Linked DNA regions of Homo sapiens: regions 1, 2, 3, 4, 5 and 6 are each linked to region 7. Evidence: promoter capture Hi-C in 16 types of primary human blood cells and fetal thymus (Javierre and others, 2016). All regions are on one chromosome and are shown on one strand. Each heading gives the region's core, a stretch centred on a gene start or on the middle of the fragment in contact. The rest is flanking DNA. Distances are from core to core; before and after follow the strand shown. Region 1 overlaps FRMPD1 (FERM and PDZ domain containing 1). Region 2 overlaps FRMPD1 (FERM and PDZ domain containing 1). Region 3 overlaps SLC25A51 (solute carrier family 25 member 51). Region 4 overlaps FRMPD1 (FERM and PDZ domain containing 1). Region 5 overlaps FRMPD1 (FERM and PDZ domain containing 1). Region 6 overlaps DCAF10 (DDB1 and CUL4 associated factor 10). Region 7 holds the start of IGFBPL1 (insulin like growth factor binding protein like 1).

Region 1 (3,787 bases), core at 119-2,618, 720 kb after region 7:
CCAAATGCAAGTGCTCTAAAAGGACATACTGGCCTCATAGCTATTTGGAGGAATTTGAGATGTTTTCTTGGCATTGTTGTTGTATCTTTTTGTTTTGCTTTGTGTTTTACCTTTTACACGTGACACTGAATAATACATGCTGGTTTTAGACACTGGGAACTAAGCTTAAAAAAAGTAAGGCGTCCTGGGATTCTCACATGCAAAAGACAGCAGAGGGTACAGATGCACAGCACACCTCAAGTCATGCATCCCTGCTCAGAAGCCTTCAACTGCTCGCCCTTCCAGGGGGAGAATCACACTGAAACATGCTGTGCTGGCATTCAAGACCTTCTATCATCTGGACTTCACTTCCTAGAACTTTTCTGCAGGCAAACTGAACTGCTCAGCAGCCCCTACTTCCCACCCAGTTGCTTCTGTTTACCTCTTTGCCTGAATCACCCTTCACCTCCATCTTTTGGACCAAATTTTACCCAGCATTAAAGACACAACTGAAATATTTCTGGGCCCTTCTCTGTTTTGTCAGCCTACAACTTCTGCCCAAGTTGGAGGACTCTCCAGCATTTACAGTGTATTTCCTTGGCTTTTCTTTTCTTTTTCTTTCTCTCTTTTTTTGAGATGGAGTCTTGTTCTGTCACCCAGGCTGGAGTGCAGTGGTACAATCGTGGCCCATTGCAACCTCTGCCTCCCGGGTTCAAGCGATTCTCCTGCCTCAGCCACCCGAGTAGCTGGGATGGGAAGACCACTTGAGCCCAAGAGTTTGAGACCAGCCTAGGCAACACAGCAAGTCCCCATCTCAAAAAAAAAGGGAAAAAAAAACAATTAATACCACCCCAAAGCCAGATCAGCCATTCATGAAAAATCACAAACTGAATTTTATATATATATATATATCTCTTCAAGTTAGCTTTCATCTACCTCTGATTCTCGTCTGTCTTTATACTAGTCATTAGAACAATGTTGAGTGAAAAATTTAAAAGCCAAAGCTTCATGTGCCCTTAAAATGTCTGCTTGTCCTCTTCACTCCTATCAATGGCACTCCTCCGTCTTAAAGTCTGGGTTGCCAATTCCCAGCGCTAACCATATTCACTCATTTAACTGAGCACCCACTGAGCCCTGGTCTCAGGAAATCATTGTCTAGGTAAAAAGCGAGGCATTTTCATAAGTCACAATGACACCAGACAGAAGGTTTGGAGGTGCTACATCAATGAAACTACATATATGCCAACCAAGATGCACCTGCAATTATATTTAAGAAGATATATCAAGAGGGATAAAGAAGAACAGATTTGGCATCAATTTAGTTCAATCTTTGGCATATGTTACAACGTGCCTATAAATCCTTAGAGGGTAGGGCCTGTGGGTTATTTATGATCATTACATTCCCTGCATGCTTAGCACGGTGTCTTGGGCATAGCAGGGCTTTGACAAATACAGCACTCTGTGCCTCCCAAGCTCTTTTGTAGGCAAGTGAGAGAGAGTGGACTGTAACAGCCACTAACAAGAAGCCGTTTTAATAGATGGAACTCTAAAACGAGGCTGTTTTTGCTGCTTTAAAGGAGACTTAGCCTTATTAAAATCAGGGGATCAGTTATGCCATTCCTGTTGCCCATCTTTGTTCTTTGATAATCTGTGCAATTCTGTAGATGATGGAAGACCATTTAGTACCTGAGAATATCGACTGCTCGTTCCCAGGAAAGGTCTTCAGCAGGCTCATTGTTCATTTGGAGGATCTGATCACCAGGGAAAAGCTTGCCGTGAGCAGAGCCTCCTGTTGGACAGAAAATAAGTAATTGGTGCTCATGCCGGGAGGACCCAGACTCTATGTGTAATAGCGGCACAGTTAAATGGCACCCTGATCCAGTTCCCAGGGGCACTGGCTCACTCCCCCGCCTTCAGTCAGGCTTGGGCTCATGTGGATCTTAATTTTCCTGTTTATAAACCATGGATAATGTACCTATCATCTATCACCAACTTCCAGGGATGTTAGAAGACTGTCCTGAGAAAGAAAACTAGCAGAAACCTTCTAAATCAATAGAGTTGGCCAGTAAATCTACTCCATTCATCTCTAAAAAACTCTGGTGTGTATGTGTAGTAAATAGAAATCAATACATTTTAACGAATCCCAGATTAACACACCTCAATTATGAAAACAAGCACTGGACTTTCCCCACCTGCTCCTCTCCACCCTGGTACAGCCTGTATTTCACAAGGTTCAAATGAAAACAAATCAATGGTTTCTATTACTGTCTGACCAGAAAGTATCCCCAGCTAGGAGCGTGTGGGGTTCAAAGAGGAAGGCTAGCTTAGCCAAATACTTTCACTGCCCCTGAGACCAGCCAGGGAGCCAAGGGTGGGCAACGCCCTAGCCAAGGCCAGTGGGAGCCTGGGGTTTGGAGCGGCAAGTGCACTTGAGGCTTCCTCCCTCCCAGCATCAAAGTAAGGTGCAAAGCCCAAGACAGAATTAGGTGTGCCTTTTCTAACTTCCCAGGTAGGATTTTCTGCATTTTGTTATAGGATAGAGAGATCGGGGAGATTTGGGGCTATTTCCCCTTAAGAAACCAAACTCCTTTCTCATTTCCCAGTCATCCCCTACCTGCTGTGACAGCCACCACTGTAAGGGGAAGGCTCTCAGAAATGTGAAATCCATAGTCCTGGAGGAGGGTGTCTTTGTCTATCTTTACTGTGTGTCGCACAGGGATGAGGGTCTGAGTTGGGTTCCTGGCGGGCCCATCAGCTGCAGCAACTTTAGCCCTGGAAGAGAAGGAGTATGTAAAAAAGAGAAAGAGAAGACTCTAGTTGTTGGTCACGAACTGGGTCAGCCCTAAGCATCATGGAGAAAGATGCAGAACTGAGCAGACACCAATTCTCCTCTTGAGACAAATAAGACACCAACTCCACTAGCAGAACTTAGGACTGTCCTCTAAAAGAGAAGTCGTATTGCCAGGCATTCTTAATGAGCTAATGCTAAATATCTAGAAAGCGCCCAGGAAGTGCTATGGACACACAGAGAAGGGGGAGAGCAGTTTCACCTTTGTAGGGCAGGGAATAGGGAATCAGGGACGCATCTGGTACTTGGAAGAGGTGGCATTTGAGCTGCACTCTGAGACATGTCTAGGGTATACCTATACAGCCCAGATCCTGGCACACAGAAGATATTCAATAACTGCTGCTGAGTGAATCAATGAATGAATGGATGGATGGATGGATGGATGGATGGATGGATGGATGGACGGACTGACAGAAGAACAGGCAGATGGGCATCCCAGGCAGGACATACTGCTGGAGTCAGAGGTACAGGAGAGGAAAAACATGGATGGTGAGCAGAAACAAGGAGTTGTCAGGTTCAGATGTTTGATGACGGATAATTTTATAGCAAGATTTTGTCTTTGGTGATGTTTTTCTTTGTTTCTTTATGATGAATTTTGCTTCCCTTTAAGCTTTGTAACTGCAAGGTTTCCAATATAAAATCTCAGATAGCAAGGACTCCCTCTATATCAACTTTTAAAACATGTATGTTCCTTAAAAGCAGGAAAGTAATATTTTCTATCTCTCAAAGAGAGAAACCACAAAGCGAGTCACAAGTTATTTGTCATTCACCTGTGGCAAATGATTTTTCCCTCTAACAGTCAGTGGTTCTTTCTGAGGAAGGTCAAATAGTGATGGGATGAGGTGTTTATTGTCATTATGAACAACAGAAATGTGAAGGAGTAATAGCTGTCTTGGGACTCTGCGGTTAAGGTCTATCATTTATTCTCATCCATTTACCAAACACTTTCAGGAACCCTGC
Region 2 (3,757 bases), core at 706-3,205, 700 kb after region 7:
TGGATCTTTGTTGGTGTTGTTCGCCGTGCCCGGATGTTGCCTTCACACATCACTCTTGGCCCACTCCAGTCAAAAGCCAATCTATCTTTCTAAGTCCACCATACATGCTACCACTCCACTCCCCCAGAGGCCTTTATTTGGCACCCAGCTGGAAGCTTGCTCTCCCCTGAGCCTGTACCACACGGCTTCTGTCCCGCTTTCATGGTCTTAAGCACACCGGTACCTCGTTTCATTGTGAGTTGTCCCCAGATCTCATCTCCTCACCCTAGCCCCACCCCAAGACTTCAGGCTTCCTAAGAGTATAACCCTGGGTAATTTATTTATTTATTTATTTATATTTATTTTTTTGAGATGGAGTTTCGCTCTCATCGCCCAGGCTGGAGTGCAGTGGCATGGTCTCGGCTCACTGCAACCTCTGCCTCCCAGGTTCAAGCAATTCTCCTGCCTCAGCCTCCCAAGTAGCTGGGACTACAGGCTTGCACCACCATGCCTGGCTAATTTTTGTATTATTAGTAGAGACAGGGTTTTACCATGTTGGCCAGGCTGGTCTCAAACTCCTGACCTCAGTTGATCCACCCACTTCGGCCTCCTAAACTGCTGGGATTACAGGCATGAGCCACTGCACCCGGCCCCTGGGTAATTTATTGCCAAGTTGTTGGTGATATAGAAATGCCTGGCACACAAAAAGTGTCAATAAATGTTTACTGGGTCAAATGACATATTCTTTTTCTTGGTTTAGAGAAAGAGGGTTTTCTAATACAAGAACTTTTCTTCCCTTAGTGAGGGAAAGGGGAAGAGAAGTCACTGATGAGTGGACAGTAATTTTTCCTTTTTTCACTCATAAGATTTATTTATGTCCACCTTTCTCTGTGTCGTAAACAGCTAAAGACTTTGCTTTAAAAAATTTGGCTATTACAGATAAATAAGATTAACCAGTATTATACTGGCTAAGTCCTTGTTCATTTCCCCAACTCTCTCTGTCATCTTAAGTTTAATTCCCCTGTAATGTGGGCCTTTATTGTAAACTACCTCAAAGTCCTTTTGGCCACCAAAGGGGGACTTGCTTTAAAAAAAATCAACCCTTCTATTCCAATCCACTTTGAGCAAAGATGATGAAAGTAGAACTCTTGTCTAATCCATTTGCAAAGCTTCCCTTTTCTGCAGAATGGCAGAGTGACAAGATTCCAGCACAGGATTCAAAAACAGACCAAGTTCAAAGCCAGTTATGAGCTAGCTGATCTTGACAGCTTTTGGGCCTCTTGGGCCTGTTTTCTCTTCTGCAAAGTGGGGATAACACTAGTTACTTCACAAGGTTGCTAGGGCATTAAATGAGATCGTATACAAGAAAGTGCCCAGGAAGCGTGCCTGGCATGTAGTAAACACTTAAAGTCTATTCCTCCATTGCTTCCTCCTCTGGGCTTGGAGTTCCCCAGGTTCAGAAAGCCCTTCTCCAGCTTCTTCTAACTCACATTTAGGAAGAAATAGAATAGAGCATTTGGAGCAGCTGTAGGAATTGCCAAATGAAGGTGCCAGAGAGAAGCACTGGATGTGTGCGTACAGGTGTATGTACATTGTACATATGTGTGCATGCATATGCATGTGTGTGAATGTACTGTGCAGATGTGTGTGTGCATGTGTGTCTTGGCTACTGTTTGTCCCCTATAGCTGCATTGGCCCTCCTGAACCTGCTCTCCCCTTGTACCAGAAGAGCTGGGCTCAATGTTTCCTCTTACATGGTTTTTACTGTTTGAACAACTTTGCTTCTTCACTGCGGCCTCACTCTAACACTATTTACTCCCTTGTTCAAGAACTGCTAGCACCATACGATATTATCTATGGATAAAACTCAAGCTCTATTGTTGCCTGGCATTTGAGGCCCTCCACAGCCACTCCTTCCACAAGAAAACAGCCTGTGCCCCAGTCCTGCTGGATGGTTTGCTATTTCCTGGGCAATTGCCATTTTTCTGGCTCTCTGCATTAGTTCACGTGACTCTCTGATTGATATGTACCCTACCCTCAACTGCCCTGTCCCTACTGGCCCTTGTTGAAATCTTAGTTATCCTCCAAAGCTCAGCGCAGGTCCAGCTTCTTTCCCATGCCTTGTCTGAAGTCTGGACAGGCTGGAAGAGATGGTACTCTTCCCCTTGCACTTGGCCCTTATTTCATCCTGCCTTGGACAATCAAGCATTCCCTGAACGTCCACCGTCCCTCAACTAGACTGCAAGCTCCTGAAGATCGAGACCACCCCTGACTAAGCTCAGTAACCCCTCTCAGATCATCTCATATGGGGAAACTTGTGAAGTATAAGTTCAATTGACTTTAACCAAGAACAGAATAGGCAGCGCCTGGGCCTTTCCTGACATCTCACCTGGGTTTTCGTAGTGTTTGGCGTAGCAGGTAGAGTCACAGACAAATGGCAGGGAAGCCTGGTGGTTATGGGTGAAGGCTTAGGAGTTCTAATCTGACCTTTGGGCAAGTCACTTCATCTCTCTAAGTCCCGATTCCCACCCCTTAACCCCCACCCAGTTACGATGGTGGTAAAAAGACCATCTTTCTGGGTGGTCGTGCAACGAAATGAGATAACATGGCACCTGGCTTATTATTACAGGGGCTCAGACCACGGTGTTTGTGAGACCACCAAGGCAGATGCAGGGCAAGATGCCTGGGGGGTCCTAGCAGCCAGAACATTCTTCTTGGGAAAAGAAGTTCAAGTTTATTCTTAATACCTTCACGGTTGTGTTTGCCTCAAACTTGAAAGCTTTGGTCTGTCCATTCTCCAAGTATAGCTTGAGCACGTTGGGCATACACAGCAGAGAATTACCCTGGAAAACACAAGAGTATTGTTGTATCCCTGTCTTTTTTTATTCCTTCTGGAGACAGGGTCTCTCTCTGTCACCCAGGCTGGAGAACAGTGGTACGATCTCGGCTCACTCAACCTCTGACTCCCAGGTTCAAGCGACTCTCCCACCTCAGCCTGCCAAATAGCTGGGATTACAGGCACCTGCCACCACGACTGGCTTTTATTTTTTTTTATTTTTTTTATTTTTTTTGACAGAGTCTCACTCTGTCACCCAGGCTGGAGTGCAGTGGTGCAATCTTGGCTCACTGCAACTTCCACCTCCTGGGTTCAAGCAAATTCTCCTGTCTCAGCCTCCCGAGTAGCTGAGACTACAGGCACACACCACCATGCCCAGCTAATTTTTGTATTTTTTTTTTAGTAGAGATGGGGTTTCACCATGTTGGCCAGGCTGGTCTTGAACTCCTGACCTCAGGTGATCCACCCGCCTCAGCCTCCCAAAGTGCTGGGATTACAGGCCTAAGCCACTGTGCCCAGCCTAATTTTTGTATTTTTAGTAGAGACAGGGTTTCACCATGTTGGCCAGCTGGTCTCGAACCCCTGGCCTCAAGTGATCCGCCTGACTTGGCCTCCCAAAATACTAGGATTATAGGCGTGAGCCACCATGCCTGGCCTGTTGTATCCCAGTCACAGCTTTCCTGCCCCTGGGTATGACAAATCCTTGGCTGTCTGGACCTGCCTGGTTTGGAGAGTAGGATCCTCCCTAACCTCCTCACCATGTCAGGGGTTCTTTCTTGGCACTTGGGAATTTCTTCAATGCACAGGCATGCTTTGTCAAGGGATACCCATGAGGACTGTTAGATACGACAAACGGTGGAGAAGAGTGAGCCCTTCTACGAGCGTACTGATAGCACTGCGCGAGCCTGTGCAATGTCTCATGACCATCAGCTCACGTTTTAC
Region 3 (3,352 bases), core at 28-2,527, 520 kb after region 7:
GCGGAATCAGTTCTGAGCCTCCTCGGCTCCGGGCTCCCCCGCCTGCCGCGGGTGTTTGTCCGGCTGCTGGGCGACCTTTCCCGCGAAGGCGCTGTCCCTTCATTCGGGCGCGCCCTGGGCTGGGGAGGCACCTCCCTGGTGCACAGGAACCGCAGGGGCGGGGAGGAGCCGGGAGCTGCCTGCGCCCGGGGGACAGCGGGGATGGCACCGCGCAAGGGCCTCTGCGTCCCGGGAGACTGGGATTTCGGCCTCACCTCGGGACCCCTGACTGTGAAGTGTCAGAAACGGAAGAGGACTTAGTGATCTTGTCCAACCCCCTCCCCGCCTTTCACAGGTTGGGGAAATGGACGCCTGGAGAACGGTAAGTTCAGCTACATAGCCTGGCAGTGCTTGTTCTGCGACAGCATATTGCATCGCGTTGTAGGAAGCTCACTTGTACAAGGATTTTCGGGGACGATGGTGTTGGTGGTGTTAGTCTCCATCCATTATTTGGTGTTCAGTTTAGCTAGATGGAGTATGTCAGCACCTCAACTTCCTGCAAAACCTTTGTTTTGCATCTCACAGCTCTACCTAGCTGATCTTAATTCCCACCTTCTGTTTTTCTCTACTTGTAATCTCTGAAACAGAAGCCCTTGAAATGTATAGTGACCTTGCCATTTTGAGCCGCCTCTGCCCGTGCTTTGAAAGGATTCCATAGGATCAAAAGGTGCTAGGACTCTTGAGGTCCCATAGTGGTTTAGAGCACAGGTTACCGCTTTGGAACTGGAATCACCCTTAGCGCATCTCAGGGGAAAACAAGCTAGGAGTTGACTCATCTGATCTCTCGTTTGGTAAATGAAAGCAAACTCAGATCAGTGGATTTTAAAATCAGATATTGCTTTGTCTTTATATTGGCAAGCTAGTGTCGTAACTAGGACTAGACCCAGGCTGATCTTGTTCTGAATGCTGACTCAGACCTGCTGACTAGTGGAAATTCACATCCTTTGAGAATTGGAGTCACCCTCTCCCCAGTTTTTGCAGAGACCTTTGTGCTAGGATCATATCTGTATCATGCTGATCCATGTAGGCTGTAAATTATAATAAGGTTTTAGACTTTACACTGTTTTCTTAGTCACAGAAGCTTGACACTTGTAGTTGCTTGAAAATCAAGTTCATTAACTGCTCCCTTATGATGAGATAGTTTTACGTAGCAAACAAGCGTAAAGTTATGGTAAATAAATTTTGCAATAAATTGCAAAGAATTATCCACATTAATGAATAAAAATATAAAGATCAGTTTAGCAAAGAAATTTAACCATGTTCACAGTATAGGTAAACATGCAAAAGTCTAAACTGTACTACCAAATAATGCTGTGCACATTATCCTTCTATTGCTAAATTAAGAACATATTCACACCATCCTGGTGTGTAGGATTAAACTAGAGAAAAAGCTTTAAATCTGTAAAGTCCAGGAGGGTTTCATAACATTTTTTCCCCCATCTAGGCCTATTTTTTAAATCTGAGAATCTCAATGTACAGTAATGTTCTTAAAATAGTTGGATATGGTGGTCAATAAATGGTTAACTTCTGTTAGCTGTAGTTTTCTGCTTGTTTAATAACAGTCCCCATTCTCACACAGAGTCATAAATAAACTAACCTTTATTTGCAAAATTTCAGAAAGTAATACAAGTAACATTCCAGTAAAAGTGAACATGGACAAAATTTTTATTGTTGTTCAAGTACACAAATAACTTGGCTTGTACTGTCAAGGAGCATGTGTAAACAGCTTGTAGGTGGTGACTTTAGAATTTAAAATATTTTGTGTGCTCCGTATGTAAAAATAAAATGGTTTTGACATTCATAAATTGTCACAATATCATGTAATCATGTACATTAATCTAAATATTCTTGTTGATTTAACATTGTTTAATTCTGAAACTGAAGAAGTGCAAAGCATTACATAGGTATCAAGCATTTCTAGACTAAGTTTTAGGACTTCAAATATTGATTAATCTTAGCTTGTAAGTGTACTAATAAGAGTTTTTAACTCATACCTATCAGCTGAATCAGTAAAAAGTAAGGATGTAGTAGAACTAATAATTATCAAACTCAATACCCTAACAGACTTCAGTGTCTAGAACATATCTTGAAGTTAATCATATTAAGCCCCAAAACTCTGTACATTAAGAAAGGGAGAGGAGAGAGGGAACAGATGATATTCTGGAACCTTTTTTTTCCCTTTAATCTTATTTTTACTGTGAATAACAACACTAGACTCACTGAAGATTTTGGGACACTTACTAGCAAGCATAGTTAAGACAAAATGCCAACTCTCTTAAATAGTAATAAGAGTTTTGCTCAAAGAAAAGTACACAGCCTTAAACAGTCAAGTTATGAAATAAAGGATAAAAATAGTTGTCTCACTTAAGAATTACAAGAAAATAAGCCAGGCACAGTGGCTCACACCTGTAATCCCAGCACTTTGGGAGGCCAAGGCAGGCTGGATCACTTGAGCTCAGGAGTTTGAGACCAGCCTGGCTAACATAGTGAAACCCCGTCTCCACTAAAAATACAGAAATTAGCCGGGTATTGTGGCATGCCTGTAATCCCAGCTACTTGGGAGGCTGAGGCAGGAGAATCGCTTGAACCCAGGAGGTGGAGGTTGCGGTGAGCCAAGATTGCGCCACTGCACTCCAGCCTGGGCAACAGAGTGAGACTCTGTCTCAAAAAAAAAATTTTTTTTTTAAACTAGGTGAGCATGGTGGCTGATGCCTGTAGTCCCCTTTGGGAGGCCAAGGCTGGCAGATGATGTGAGCCCAAGGAGTTTGAGACCAGCCTGGGCAACGTAGAGAAACCCTGTCTCTACAAAACATACAAAAATTAGCTGGGCTTGGTGGTGCGGGCCTGTGGTCCCAGGTACTCAGATGGCTGAGGTGGAAGGATTGCTTGAGCCCAGGAGGTCAAGGCTGCAGTAAGTGCAGTGAACTGCGAGGTAGCCACTGCATTCAGCCCAGGTGACAGAGCAAAACTCTGTCTCAAAAAAACAAAACAAAACTGAGAAATAGTAAGATTGGTAATTCACAAGCTGCTGCTTTGCTAGGAGTGGTAAGGTTATAAATTAGATAAACTGATAACCCTGCTCAAGAAAAAAGGGAACATAAGTACACAGGTTAGAAGTAATTTTTTAAAACAGCAAGTGTTGGATGGGTGCAGTGGCTTGTAAATCCCAGCACTTTGGGAGGCCAAGGCAGGAGTTCAAGACCAGCCTGGGCAACATAGCAAGGCCCCCTCTCTGCTAAAAAAATGTTTTTTAAAAGTTAGCCAAGCATGGTGGCATGCGCCTGTGGTCCTAGCTACTCAGGAGACTGAGGCC
Region 4 (3,357 bases), core at 100-2,599, 680 kb after region 7:
TAATTTTTGTATTTTTAGTAGAGATGGGGTTTCACCATATTGGTCAGGGTGGTCTCGAACTCCTGACCTCAAATGATCCGCCTACCTAGGCCTGGGATTACAGGCATGAGCCACCGCGCCTGGCCGACTTTTTTTTTTCTTTTTTTTTGAGACAGGGTCTCACTCTGTCCCCCAGGCTATAGTGCAGTGGTGTGACGGCTCACAGCAGCCTTGAACTCCTGAGTTCAAGCAATCCTCCCACCTCAGCCTCCCAAGGTGCTTGGATTATAGGATTGAGCCACTGCACCCAGCTGTGATAGACATTATTAAATTTTTGGATGCCTAAGATCCATTTAATTATCTTTTGGTCACAGCATCTCAACTTCTGTTTAGGGAATGACATCTCCCCAATGGTTAGAGTCTGCTGGAACTGTTCACGAAGATGCTCTGTCCACGCCAGCCAATCAGCTACAAATTCTCCAGAATTCCAAACCCAAAGACATTAAAAAAAAAAAAAAAAAAAAAAAAAAAAAAAAAAAAAAAGCAGAGCCATTCTTTCCAACCACAATAGCTTGATAATACAGGTAGGGAATCCTGTGACTAGACTCTTAGCCTGGTTGCTGTCTATTTCTGAACCCAGGTCTTCAGGCTTGCCAGCAATTCTATAAACAATCTTACTTCCTAACACTTTTTCTTTGTGCTGATGTTAACCCAAGTCTTTTAGTGCCAATGGTGCCATTCAGTGCTGCCGTGCAGGTTAAAGGAATTAGTGCATTTTTATAAAGCACCCAGCACAAGGCCTCTGCCTCATTAGGTATTCACTAAAAGGAAGCTGCTCGTTATTGCCATTTCATGTCTGAATGTAAAGGGGCCACAACTCTGTCACAGGCATCGAGTTTTGTGCATCCCAGGATGGATCTTTCTGGGAGGAGAGGCACTATTGTAAAGAACCCTTGGGAATCAGCCAGAAGGAATTAGGATCAGAGCCTAGCACTTGAGAATCAGAGAGCTTGGGTAGTCAGACCAGTCATTTCTAACCTGGCTGTATGCTATTAGAAACCTTATCAAGTCCTAGGCTGCTCCCCACAATCTCTGAGGAGTCAGAATCTCTGAGGCTAGGGCCTAGGGATCTATAAGGTTTAGGTTTTTTTGTTTTTTGTTTTTTGAGACAGAATCTTGCTCTGTTGGCCAGGCTAGAGTTCAGTGGTGCAATCTCGGCTCACTGCAGCCTCTGCCTCCCAGGTTCCAGTGATTCTCCTACCTCAGCCTCCTGGGTAGCTGGGATTACAGGTGCACGCCACCATGCCTGGCTAATTTTTGTACTTTTAGTAAAGATGGGGTTTTGCCATGTTGGCCAGGCTAGTCTCAAACTCCCAACCTCAGGTGATCTGCCTGCTTCTGCCTCCCAAAGTGCTGGGATTACAAGTGTGAACCACTGCGCCCGGCCAAATCTATAGTTTTTAAACAAGGTCCCTCAGGTGATTCTGATGCCCAGTCACATTTGACTGCCCTAGGCTACTGACAGCCACCGACCAAGGAGTTTCTAAGTCCCAAAGACAAAGAGGCTCCAATAGTCAGTCAGGGGCCAAATCAGAACCCAGGCTGAGGAATCCTAGTTCTGGCTCTTTTCTCAGCACTACACTGGCTCCCTATAAAAAACAAAAACAAAAACAAAACAGTGTCTGGTATGAACCCCATATGTTCCTGACTAGACTCCCATAAAAGGGCCCTGACTGATGGTTTCTGCCACACTTCCATCCTGCCCCCCGGCACAATGGCTGGCCCTGCAGGGCAAGGCTGGGGCATGGAAAGTGGTTGTCTGGGTACTTTGGGGAGCAGTAAGGAGTCTGGCCATGGTTTCTCCTTTCCTTAGAGGTACAGTCAATTGAACTCAGTGTAGATGGTGGAGACTTCATTCATTCATTTAACAACAATTGCTAGACGCTGTGTGCTGGGGACACAGTGAGAAACACACAGTTCTAACGCTCAAAGGAGTTCTCGGTCTAGTGATGGAGAGAAACATCAACACAGAATCATACAAGTAAATATGTAATTTACAGGCTGTGCGAGGTGCCAGACAGGGAGAGCCCCAGGTAATGCAAGAACATGTGACAGAGATGGGGAGACTTGCCCTGGCCTGGGAAGCCTGGGAAATGTTCTCTGAGGAAGTGAATTCCAACCGGAATCTGATAGACGGATGGGCACCATCAGCCACGATCTGGGGAGGAGTGTTTCGGTCAGAAAGAGCAGCATGTGCAAAGGCTGGAGGAGGGGGAAAAAACAGGCACTTGTAGAAAGTGGCAAGGAGGTCTGTATGGCAGGAATGCAGGAGGAGGGAGAGAGACAGGCAGAGGCCATGTCACAGAGGGCCTCAAAGGGCCTGATGGGGCTCCCAGAGGAGCTGGCCTTTCTCTCCAGAACAGTGGGAGAGCACAGGAGGTCTGGGAATAGAGGATCAGAGAGCAGCAGGAAAGTGCCGAGACAGGAACAAGGGCTGCAGCTCTCCCAGCTCCTGGCAGGTCACCTTCAACATCCATGTGCTCTTTTCCAATATGTTTCCTTCAGAATGCAGTGTGTGTGTGTGTGTGTGTGTGTGTGTGTGTGTGTGTGTGTCCTGCCAGGATCTCAGTTCTGCTTGGAAAGACCCTCCACACTCTCGGTGGAGGAATGTATGAGGAACCTGATAGAAACACAGCCACCAGATCCCCTACCTTCTGATGTCAGGGTCCCTTGGACCCCAGAAGGCCTTGCAGGGCCACAGACGGCCTGTCTGTCTGGTTCTTCTTGCTTCAAGGCCTCCTTTAATGCAGCCTCAGGATCAGTGATGACATAGCCACTTCGCTCTGCCGGGCACTCCTGTCAAGCCCTTTCCTTTTTTGTAAATTCTGTCCCTCCCACAGGGCCCAGCCCATTTGCCCCCTCTTCTGGGAAGCCTTCCCTGATTCCCACTGTTGGATGAATCCCTCCCATCTGCTTGCCACAGTTGTCTGAACCTCCCTTGCAGGCCTGCCACGATGCCTAAAATTTGGTCCATGGAATCTGTATCTACCTCCTCAGAAGTGTACAGGGACCCTGTTTCACTCATGTGCCTTCCTCTCAAGCTTGGCCCCAGGCCTTGATCCCCGGGAGGCACTCAGGAGCTGCCTGCCGTGTCTGCAGACCTGCAAGGGACGGCTCACCTGACGGGGGGCCTGGGGGAGTGAGCTTATCAGCCGCGTCATAGTATTCCTCATCTGAGCTGCCATCCTCAAAGGCCAGTGGTGGGTGCAGGGCCAGGGGTTCCAGCATGGAACTGGGCTGGGCCTCAGTCCAGCCCTGCTGACCCCAGGCTGGCGGGGCTCCCCCTTGCCGGGAAGCTGTACTCTCGGAACTGTCACT
Region 5 (3,369 bases), core at 25-2,524, 730 kb after region 7:
CAGCTTGAAACGTCAGACCAAAAATGTTTAAGCTTCCTCCTATAATAAATGGGGACCCATCCAAGCTTTCTGAGCATTGGGTAAGAGTGGTCCTAAACAAGTCACTCTATGAGCCTTAGGTGTTTCATCTGTAAAAGGGAGCCCCATTTTATCTGACCTCGGTGTGTGAGGATCAGAGAACTTGGCCACAGGGCAGTGGAGCCCTGAGCAAAGTTTATTACTCAGCAGCAGAACAGCTGTTTCCAGTTCCTTTGGAAGAATGTGTGTCTCAGAAACACCTGACACGTGATATTTCATCTCTGTGGCAGGGCCAGATGGGAAATCCAAGCAAAAATGAACGCTTCGAAACAGAACATATTTGAAAGTTCTCCTGTAGCAGTCAAATCAGATCTGTATTTGATTTCATTTTATTTTGTTTAGAATGACATAGGGACTGCAAGGAAGGAACAGCTGCTGGAAACGAAGACACAGAAAGACACAGAAGACACAGAAAGAATATAAACGGCAGATTACCTGACCTTCATGTCAAGTACTAAGACAAGAGGTGTGTGTCTCTATGTGTGTGTGTGTCTGTGTGTGTGTCAGAGAGAGATCAAAAGAGTGTATGTATGAGTGTGTGCTCCAGAGAGTGTATATGCATGTGCGTATGAGTATGTATGAGTGTATTTCTGTGTGTATGTCTGTGTGTCAGTGTGTTTGTAAATGTTGTAAGTGTGTGTGAGTTGGGGTGTCTCTGTGTGTGTGTAGGTACATGTTGGGGGTAGGGTACAGGGAAAAGCACTCCAGCAAAATTGCTGACCTGTTTACACTGCTCCCACCATATGGTGTAAGAACAAAGCAAGCCGGAGACAGCAATCCCAAGGTGCGGCCAGGACCAGCACAAGCTCCTCCCCCGGGACACCAGACCTTTATAGACAGAAATCTGCAAACTCAGGAGGCTTACCGGGCCGAGCTGTCCCGGGAGCGCCGAAGCCATCTTGCCACCATTTGTTCTATTCTATGTGCTTTCCGTGTCTGGAATAAACTGGTCTCCAGCTCTTCCATTTACCTAAAAGGAAGAAGAGTGTTCTTAAGATGCTAACCAAAATACTCTAAAGAGGATTTTGATAAATCAGGACGATGCTTCCTTTATTTGCCCATTATAAGACATGCTAATCGAATAACTAGTGTTCTCCCTTAGTCTAAAATCAACATAAACAGGTGCTCAATGTTCACAGAGTGAACAACTTTAGCAACCCTCAATCTTGCAGCAAACAGACTGGGTTTGTATCTTAAACAGTTAAACATAAGGATGAGAGAGTAAAATAGATAACGTTTCTCAAACTTTGTGACTGTGACCCATAGGAAGAGATACACCTTACCATGTGACACCGTCCTTCCCTCTCCCAACTATGTGTGCAACCCTGGACAATGCGGTTCAGTTTTGCCTGCATCAGGAACCCCATGGACATGGAAGCATTCTTCATCACATTGTGCAGATTCCTCTGAGCGCTGCTGCTTTTGTTCAATCTTTTATACTTAATTTTTGAATAAGTATTTCACTTACATAATTCAACACTAGCTTATAAAAAAGATAGTTACTGTATTGTGTGCTTAAAAATTTAAGAGGGTAGATCTCAAGTGTTCTTATCATAATAAAAAATATGTAGACAGTGAAAAGTCTGTCTTATATCCTTCCTTGCTCCTACCCACCCAGTTCCCATGCCCATACATAATCACTGCTCTTGTTTTCCATTTGTCCTTCCAGAGTTTCTTTTCTTTTCTTTTCTTTTCTTTTTTGAGATGGAGTCTCGCTCTGTCACCCAGGCTGGAGTGCAGTGGCACGATCTTGGCTCACAGCAACCTCCACCTCCCGGGTTCAAGTTATTCTCCTGCCTCCTCAGCCTCCCGAGTAGCTGGGACTACAGGCACATGCCTCTGCACCTGGCTAATTTTTGTATTTTTAGTAGAGATGGGGTTTCACCATGTTGGCCAGGCTGGTCTTGAACGCCTGACCTCAAGTGATCTGCCCGCCTTGGCCTCCCAAAGTGCTGGGATTATAGGCATGAGCCACCACACCCAGACTGTCTTATTCTTTTAAAAAAATTATCTTGGAACACTTTTAGATGTATAAAAAGTTTGCAAAGATAATATAGGGTTCCCATATCCCTTCATTCAGCTTTCCCTAATATTAACATCTTACATAATTATTTTACCTTTGTAAAAATTAAGAAATTAACATTGGTACGATATTATTAACTGAACTATAGACTATGTTCAAATTTTACCAGTTTTTCACTAATGTGCTTTTTCTGTACCATGATCCAATCTAGGGGTGCTGATTTGCCCAGTGGCTCAGGAATTAGGGGCAGTAAGTACAGGAGAAAGCAAGGATGAGCATAAGGTTGAAAATATGGAAATACCTACCTAGACAACTATCTCTTTCCCATCCTACTGAAGATAAGAGGCTTATTTTCTGGAGAAAACGAACAAGAGAAGCTTGGGGAGACTAGGCACAATAGACGGTACAGGAATTAAAATAGAAGAAGTAAGTAAAACTCTTCTAACTGAATGACAAGACCTCTTCCTGTGCCCAGTTCTCTGAATACTGTCAGCGAGTACTTTATATCCTGCTATGGTTTGAATGTGTTCCTGAAGTTCATGTGTTGAAAACTTAATTTCCATTGCAACAGAGTTGAGAGGTGAAACTTATAAGAGGTGATTAGGTCATGCAGGCTGTGTCCTCATGAATGAATTAATGCCATTACTGTGGGTGTGAGTTCCTGATAAAAGGATAACTTTGGCCTCTTTCCACACTCTCTTGTGTGCTCTTTTGCCCTTCCACCTTCTTCCATGGGATGATACAGCAAGAAGGCCCTTACCAGATACCAGCACCTCAATATTAGACTTTCCAGCCTCCAGAATTGTGAGAAATAAATTTCTTTTCTTCATAAATTACCCAGTCTGTGATATTATATAGCAACACAAAACAGACTAAGACATGTCCCAAGCAAAAGATTAGAGAATCCTTCTCTGGAGGACTGAATAGCACCAGAGAAAAGACCTTCAGATATTGACATTTTCGGGATCCCTGCAGGGAAAAGGTAACTTGCTGCCAGATCATCTTGCATTGAAATGTATTAATCAATGAGCCAGACCCATCATACAAAGTTTCCAATTATTTGTTTTACTGCTTTACTCTTACTTATCAATAAATATCTAAGGAAAGCATGCATTATAAAAAACAGACCAAAACAAACAGAAAAATTCAGAAGAAACAGAGACAATGTAGAAAACAGAAGAAAAAAAATTTCAATCTATAACTTAAATCTTCAAAAAGATAAAGTATTATATTCATGAAACAAGAAGAGGATTTTTTAAAAATAAACT
Region 6 (3,596 bases), core at 204-2,703, 550 kb after region 7:
TGACCCGCCCACCTCACTGCCTGCCCCTCCCCCCACCTTCCCCAATAGCTGGAACTACAGGCTCGTGCCACCATGCCCAGCTTTTTTTGTATTTTTTGTAGAGATGGGGTTTTACCACGTTGCCCAGGCTGTTCTCAAACTCCTGGGCCCAAGCAGTCTGCCCGCCTTGGCCTCCTAAAGTGCTAGGATTACAGGCATGAGCCACTGCGTCCAGCATTATTTGTTTTAAAAGTAGTATATGACAGCTATAAACTAAAACAGCTAAGCCCTAGTAGATAAAGGTCTAGGGAATAAAAGCACTTATGTGTTACAAGACAACTCTGAAAATGTTACTGGCCCTATACACATAAGCGGAAGCTTTTCAACTTTTTCACAATGATATCAGAATAATTTTACCTGATTACAGAATAAAGCTGCAATACATTTCTCTTACAGTATGACACCTGTATTCACAATGTTCTACATAGTTTGTAAGCAGTAAACATTTTCTCACTGAATTATCAAAGCTGTATAGCAACTGAAGTTAGGCTATGAAGTCAGACAGAACCAGGTAGAAGTCTAACTCTGAAACTCACTAGGTATATGACTTTAGGTAAACGAATCTAAGCCTCAGTTTCTTCCTCTGTAAAATGGGAATAACTGTACCCACTTCATAAGAATGCCTTAAGGATTAAATAGTGCCTGTGAAGCGCTAAGGCTAGTACCCAACACTAGCACACAGTAAGCAAACAGAACAGTAGCCCCTAAAGATGTCCACATCCTTAATACCCAGAACTTGTATGTAATGTTACAGGGCAAGGGCTAATTAAGGTTGTAAATGGAATTAAGTTTGCTAATCAGCTGGCCTTAAAATGGAGAGATTATCCTGCATTATGCAGTTGGCCCAATGTAATCACGAAAGTCAATGTAAGCACGGTGGCGTACACTTGTAATCCCAGCACTTTGGGAGGCTGAGGCAGGAGGATCACTTGAGCCCAGGAGAGTTTGTGCCCAGCCTGGGCAACATAGTGAGACCCTGCCTCTTCAAAAATAAAAAAATTAAGTACTTTTTAAAAAAAAAAGAATATGCTTTTCTGCTGGTTTTGAAGGAAGAAGGGGCAATGAACCAAGGAATGCAGGTGGCCTCTAGATGCTGGAAAAGGCAAGGAAATGAATTGTCCCCTTAGGCTCCCAGAGGAAACACAGCCCCACCAACACCTTGATTTTAGCCCAGTGAGATCCATTTCTGACCTCCAGAACTGGAACATAAATTTTTGTTGTTTTAAATAACTGAGTTTATGGTAATTTGTTACAGCTGCAATAGAAAACAAATATACATTGTTGATTCCTTATTATTAACGCATGGCAAATAATTATTTCCCTTTCAATTAAAAATATATTTTTAAATAGCCCAAAATATGTCAGTCATAGAGATAACGAAATAGTGATAATTAGTGCTATGGTTAGTTAAATCAGTTTGTCTGAATGATTAATTTCACAAAATAATTTGAATTCAAAGGGATTCACTCTTTTTTTAATCTCCAATGATTTACCAAAAAGAGTGTCCCAAATATGATTATCATACTCTGGTGAATGAAAATAATCTGGTAAAATGAACCATCAATCACACTGTTAAATAATACAACAAGAAAATGAAATTCTAGAGAACACTGAAAAATATCATGTTCTGAGTTCTTATATAAGATTCAGTCACTGTAAACAGCTTGACAAAAAGGGTAAAAATCTATGAATGATGCTTCCTGTTGATAATACAATTTTCACTGAATAAAGAACTAATTTTAGAAACTCTACAAACATATTCATACCAAATAAACTTGCAAATGGCTAGAACATTAGTGAACATATGTGAAAGAATGCAATCTTAGTAAATGTGTTTTTAGTGTAAAATGCCAATTCTACATTTTAGATAGTGGCCTTCCTAAGATGAAATGTCCATATACCAGCTGAGACCCAGTTTATCCCTGGAGGTACAGGAAGAAATTTAGAACTTTAATTTTTAAAAATCGTATCCTTTTAAACTTTCGATTTTCCTCTGTGTATGTTTTATAATGTACTTAACAGATCAGTACAATAGTATACCCATCATTTATAGATAATCAAAATTTGGATCTTAAATTTTTTCTGATGGAGAGTGCATGATTGAAAAAGTCCAGAATGTCACTAACAAGAATTACCAAGCCACTGCCATTGTCATAGCCTTGTGCTTGATTTTGGTCTAAAAATGCACATATAGGTAGTTTAAACAAAAAATCTCCAGCAATTACTAAATCAAGTTTGCCATCAACCTTTTAAACAGGTTAACCACACACAAAAAGTGTGTCAAATGTTTCAAAGTAGCATTTATTTTTAAAAAATCATGTTATGAGGTAGACTTATATCACATATTCAATGCATTTATAATATAAAGGTTTTTTTAAATTAAAACCTTATATGTTTATGTAGGTGTGTATATAGATAAAATAAACTCATCTACAACTCTACATTCATCCATTTGAAAGACTCAAAACAATTAAAAAGGTAAAAAGCCAATTATAGTTTTAGAAAGCTTTTGTAATTCTGAAATGAAGAACATTTGATCTGTCCAAAAATTTGTGGGAAGGAGGTGGTTTTAATTTCAGAAGTTATTTTACTAAATTATACATTTTATAGCTAATTCTCAATGAATGTGAATATCTTTATTAGAAGGTAAGTGAAAGATACTGTAACTCTTTTATTACTTTGTACCCATCATGTCAAAATGATTACATCTAAGTAGGACCAGCTACATAATTTGCAAGCCCAGTACAAAATAAAAATGCAGTGCCCTTGTTCAAAAAGTTGAGAATTTCAAGATGGCTATAGCAAAGCATTAAAGTAAGCATGAGGCCTTTCAACTTTTTTTTTATTTTTTTTATTTTTTTGAGGCAATCTCACTCTGTTGCCCAGGCTGGAGTGCAGTGGTGTGCTCTCAGCTTACTGCAGTCTCAACTTCTTGGGCTCAGGTGATCCTCCCACCTCAGTTTCCCGAGTAGCTGGGACTATAGGTGTATGCCGCCATGCCTGGCTAATTGTGTTTTCATTTTTTGTAGAAATGGGGTCTCATTATGTTCCCCAGGCTGGTCTCAAACTCCCGGGCTCAAGCGATCCTCCTGCCTCGGCTTCCCAAAGTGCTGGGATTACAGGTGTGAGCTACTGCACCCAGCCTACATGGAATCTTTCTAAGTATGGGACACTATGTAACTGCACATGTACAACCTCTTTAAGCCAGCCCTGAATCTAAATCTCTTTCAACTACAGCTATGGAATACCAAGACGATAGTTATCTTTGTCCCTTGAGTTCCCAGTACTAAACTAGGCATATAATAGGGATTCAAATGTTCGTTGAATGAAAAACTGAGTCTTAACTTGCAGTTTTCCAAGTCAATGAGAAATGTTTGCTTGCTTATGGTCAGAACAGATCTTACCCTGATGAATATAGTCTGTTAATTATAATAATAAATGATGGATTCCTCTATTACGGAATAATCTGCACACTGCATTCTGCTGGCTTCATGAGAGCTTCAGGCCATATATGGTGAAGGTTCATTTGATTCATTCAACAAATATTTATTGAACAA
Region 7 (3,700 bases), core at 400-2,899:
GATTCCTGGAAGAGCACAGAGGGGTCAAGCGGTGAGAGCACTTTAAAAGGCCACTCCTGGTAAAGACAGCAGCCTCCAGGTTGAAAGTCACTGTTGATAGGTTCTGAGAGCTGCGCTGAGTGCATTACCAACATTGTTATATTTATTCCTTACCACCACCCCTTCATGGTGCCTAACCGCCCCTGCTCTGTGTGGCTGATTGTAAGGTAAGGCCTGGCGTGGACCAGGCAGATGGCCCTCCTCTGACCACCACATAAAGTGGCCTCAGAAGAGGCTCCTTTCTGGGGATAAGAAGACTGCAAACTGGGAAGGAACTGGGCTTGAAAAGCAAAATGAACCCCACCCAAGAACGGTGTAGCTGGTCTTCCCAGGCTGCAAGAGGCTTTCTCCATCTCCAGGAGTTCAGCAAAGAAAAAACAATAGAGCACAAGACACATGAGGGGTGGCCAGTAAAGGCAGGAAAAGTCTCCTATAAAACCTGCTCAGCGAGTCCCTCCCTCCATCCAGTGCATTTACCCAGCAACACATCAAATCCCAGCAGCCAAGACTCTCTTAGGTTTCTCGTCTGGGTGCCCTGCCAGAACTCAGGCAGGATGGTGTGCACAGAGCCTGGCCCAGAGAAGGCGCAACGGCGGCATGAATAACTGACTACAAGAAACTGCATCTTTCCAACATGCATTCCCCAGTAAGCCACAGGTACACTGACCCTTGTGCACCAAGACTTCATCAAAGCATTATTCGTATTAACCAAAGGATGGAAAATAAGTGGTTAAATAACTGCAACTAAACCCTGTGGAAAGGCCACTCTGTATGAACTCCAAAATATATCACCATATCTCATCACAACAAAGTCACTGTGGACGGAGATGTACCATGACTTTATGCAGCATTAAGAAACACACTCACAGAGCCAATGAACTATGCTCCCATTGATTGTATAAGAAACCCAGTTTCACAGATGACAAGAGGTGGGGAAACTGTGAAACACTGTAAGTGCAAAAACCAAGTGCAGACTAATGTGTATGGCACGCTACTCTGTGTGTGTGAGAGAGAAACAGAGTGTGTGTGTTTTAAAGGAAGGGGCTTTTTTAGGCACATGTACTTTTATAGGCATAGAGAAAATTTCTGAAAAGATATACAAAAACCCGATAGCAAGAGTGGCCTCTGGAAGCCGAGTTGGAGGATGGGGATACAAGGTGGTAGGGTAACCCTCTTTTCATCCTTAGATGTATATGTAAAATCTACATTTTAAACCATATATTCTCTTTATAAAATAAAACTTTGAAAACTACTGAATGCAAAATAAAATTAAATAAAATAGCGCATCCTTCTGGGAGGATTTACGGGCATACTATCTGGAGCCAGCCTTGGATCCGGAGACCGTACGGTTATCCAATCCTGACTCTGCCATAGCGACCTCGGGCAAGTTGTCGCCCCGACTGGGTCTCGGTTCCCTCAAGAGTCCAATCGGAGGTCGGAGAGCTGCTCTCGGGGCGACCCTCCAGCTCGGAGACCCGGGCCGCGGGCACCGCGCGGGTCCCGGGCTGGAGCAGCGGTCTGCGGGCGCCCCGCGGTGCAGGCCCGGCCAATCAGCGGCCGCGGGGCGGGAGCGGTGACTGCTCGGCGGGCGCGGAGCGGAGCGCGAAGCAGAGGCGCCGCCGCTGTCCCGGAGCAAGCCATGCCGCGCTTGTCTCTGCTCTTGCCGCTGCTGCTTCTGCTGCTGCTGCCGCTGCTGCCGCCGCTGTCCCCGAGCCTTGGGATCCGCGACGTGGGCGGCCGGCGCCCCAAGTGTGGTCCGTGCCGGCCAGAGGGCTGCCCGGCGCCTGCGCCCTGCCCGGCGCCCGGGATCTCGGCGCTCGACGAGTGCGGCTGCTGCGCCCGCTGCCTGGGAGCCGAGGGCGCGAGCTGCGGGGGCCGCGCCGGCGGGCGCTGTGGCCCCGGCCTGGTATGCGCGAGCCAGGCCGCTGGGGCAGCGCCCGAGGGCACCGGGCTCTGCGTGTGCGCGCAGCGCGGCACCGTCTGCGGCTCCGACGGTCGCTCGTACCCCAGCGTCTGCGCGCTGCGCCTGCGCGCTCGGCACACGCCCCGCGCGCACCCCGGTCACCTGCACAAGGCGCGCGACGGCCCTTGCGAGTTCGGTGAGTCAGGGTCGGGGATTGGGTGGGTAGAGAAGGAGGGATTCCAACCCTCTGGGGTGTGGAGCGAAGGATCCCCCTGCCCAGTGGTGGACGGCGCTGCCTGGCACTCAGTTTCCCCTTAGGGAGCAGTATTTCATATCTCTCCTCGTGCTCAGAGAGACTGGGGCGAGAATCCTTGGAGACGCCACTCACTGTGCTAGTCGAATTTTTGGTGAGCCTGCTACCCCTTTTGGTACTTAAGTACCTGCTGATGCAGTCACTTATTTGTAGGCATGGTATGTTTGCCCAGCAGGAGACTGGGAGTTAAGGAGGGGGATCCGAGTTCCCAGGTATCCAGCGCTAGGTGGATTGTTTGAATGGGGAGGAAGGGAAGTTGAGGTTGGGGGAGGAAGGGAAGTAGAGGATAGGGGAGGAAGGGAAGTTGAGGATGCAGGAGGAGGATGAGTTCCAGACTGGGGAATCAGTAGTCACCAGGCCACAGCACCAGAGCACCAGGGCCCCCGGTGTGGGAAGGGGCTGAGCTGGGATGCTGAGGGAGCTCCATCCAGGAGAAGTAAGACCTTTGGAGACGTAAGGTCTGAAAAGATTGTGGTGCTATTAGGGGCAGACTCAGGTTTCGTGCTTCTAAAACATATATAATTTGGAGAGTCCTGCCTTAAGTAAAGGAATAGAACTGCTAGGGACTTAGAAACTTATTATGAAATGCTAGGGACTTAGAAACTTAAGCTTCATTAACATCACAGTAAAATAATCTCTGAGTGCTATAGTTGCCCACCCTCTTTATGTACCTTTTGAAAACCAAACAAAAAGAAACCAAAACGTTAGCACTGCTTTACCGGCTTCCTAAGCATGAGTGTATTCCACCCACTAGGTTTTGAAGTGCCGCTGTGTACTTTGCCTGGAGTGGGCAGTGCTGAGTTTAGGGTGAGTGAGAAGGTGGCCAGTGAGTCCCAAGGAGCCTGGGTTTCGGCCTGGAGTTCAGGCTTCTGGGAAATAATTCTGGCCTGAGCCCAGAGACCAAGTCCAGACTTTAGTGCCTAAGTCAGTGTAATGACTTAGCTTCAAGAAAGAAGCCTGGGGTGGGGTGAGACCTTTCCAAGCCTTAAGAAGTATCTAGTAGTCTTTCCTCTCAAGTAGTTCAGGTAGATGTACCCAAGTCCAGGAGACGCAATGGGTTGTTGGAGATGGGGCAGGAAGCCTCCAGTCCTGGGAAATGTAAAACCAGTGTGTGGCCAGTTGAGCACAGGAAAGTCACCATTGGCTGTTCCTAGCTGAAGCTCCCCATGGAGGACAGAGCTGGCTGGGGGTGCATCTGTGCTGCCGCTGGCTCCCTGAGTGGCCCTGGACGGGTCCCTTCCCCTCTCTGGCCATATCAGCCCCAGTGGAGTCATTGTTGAGGTCCCTTTCACTCGGAACAGTTGGTTTCCGCCCTGTGGCACTTAAACAGTCCTGTCTCTTTCCTTTTGCTAGTTCCTATCACTCGTTTTTATAACTGCTTTCCTCAGCCGTTAATTCACAGGCAATTCTCTTTGTCTCCAGACAGGTAACACTTTTAACTCCAC

The links. Contacts are between HindIII fragments. The CHiCAGO score rates a contact against its expected background, and 5 or more counts as called.
Region 1: a fragment that was not itself captured here is called in contact with the fragment with the promoter of IGFBPL1 in region 7 in 3 of 17 cell types (endothelial precursors, M0 macrophages and M1 macrophages); the score reaches 7.9 in endothelial precursors.
Region 2: a fragment that was not itself captured here is called in contact with the fragment with the promoter of IGFBPL1 in region 7 in 4 of 17 cell types (endothelial precursors, M0 macrophages, M1 macrophages and 1 more); the score reaches 10.9 in endothelial precursors.
Region 3: a fragment that was not itself captured here is called in contact with the fragment with the promoter of IGFBPL1 in region 7 in 5 of 17 cell types (megakaryocytes, total B cells, total CD8 T cells and 2 more); the score reaches 6.2 in megakaryocytes.
Region 4: a fragment that was not itself captured here is called in contact with the fragment with the promoter of IGFBPL1 in region 7 in 3 of 17 cell types (M0 macrophages, endothelial precursors and M2 macrophages); the score reaches 7.7 in M0 macrophages.
Region 5: a fragment that was not itself captured here is called in contact with the fragment with the promoter of IGFBPL1 in region 7 in 2 of 17 cell types (M0 macrophages and M1 macrophages); the score reaches 5.9 in M0 macrophages.
Region 6: a contact is called between a fragment that was not itself captured here and the fragment with the promoter of IGFBPL1 in region 7, in 1 of 17 cell types (naive CD8 T cells). The highest score is 5.1, in naive CD8 T cells.

The regions. Positions count from the first base shown.
Region 1 is chr9:37,706,380-37,710,166 of GRCh38, reverse strand. It overlaps FRMPD1 (FERM and PDZ domain containing 1), which reads right to left. Exons shown (of 16, transcript NM_014907.3): 3 at 2,594-2,751; 4 at 1,666-1,768. Among named protein-coding and RNA genes, the nearest start is that of TRMT10B, 46 kb to the left of the region's middle. The HindIII fragment of the contact is 765 bases long and covers 986-1,750 here.
Region 2 is chr9:37,723,290-37,727,046 of GRCh38, reverse strand. FRMPD1 (FERM and PDZ domain containing 1) reads right to left here. Exons shown (of 16, transcript NM_014907.3): 7 at 2,727-2,822. Among named protein-coding and RNA genes, the nearest start is that of TRMT10B, 29 kb to the left of the region's middle. The HindIII fragment of the contact is 1,610 bases long and covers 1,151-2,760 here.
Region 3 is chr9:37,900,540-37,903,891 of GRCh38, reverse strand. The region is part of intron 1 of SLC25A51 (solute carrier family 25 member 51); the gene reads left to right. It also overlaps the pseudogene PAICSP1. Among named protein-coding and RNA genes, the nearest start is that of SLC25A51, 1.9 kb to the left of the region's middle. RefSeq lists a silencer at 1-324. The HindIII fragment of the contact is 310 bases long and covers 1,123-1,432 here.
Region 4 is chr9:37,740,686-37,744,042 of GRCh38, reverse strand. It overlaps FRMPD1 (FERM and PDZ domain containing 1), which reads right to left. Exons shown (of 16, transcript NM_014907.3): 15 at 3,159-3,357. Among named protein-coding and RNA genes, the nearest start is that of TRMT10B, 11 kb to the left of the region's middle. The HindIII fragment of the contact is 3,466 bases long and covers 1-3,082 here.
Region 5 is chr9:37,690,317-37,693,685 of GRCh38, reverse strand. It overlaps FRMPD1 (FERM and PDZ domain containing 1), which reads right to left. Exons shown (of 16, transcript NM_014907.3): 2 at 944-1,048. The coding sequence starts at 1,044. Among named protein-coding and RNA genes, the nearest start is that of FRMPD1, 41 kb to the right of the region's middle. The HindIII fragment of the contact is 2,413 bases long and covers 68-2,480 here.
Region 6 is chr9:37,867,638-37,871,233 of GRCh38, reverse strand. It overlaps DCAF10 (DDB1 and CUL4 associated factor 10), which reads right to left. Exons shown (of 7, transcript NM_024345.5): 7 at 3,570-3,596. Among named protein-coding and RNA genes, the nearest start is that of SLC25A51, 35 kb to the left of the region's middle. The HindIII fragment of the contact is 2,188 bases long and covers 360-2,547 here.
Region 7 is chr9:38,422,403-38,426,102 of GRCh38, reverse strand. IGFBPL1 (insulin like growth factor binding protein like 1) reads left to right here and starts at 1,649. Exons shown (of 5, transcript NM_001007563.3): 1 at 1,649-2,138. The coding sequence starts at 1,679. LOC105376041 (a long non-coding RNA gene) reads right to left here and starts at 1,492. Exons shown (of 8, transcript XR_007061487.1): 1 at 1,353-1,492. RefSeq lists an enhancer at 1-604. The HindIII fragment of the contact is 4,043 bases long and covers 1-2,866 here.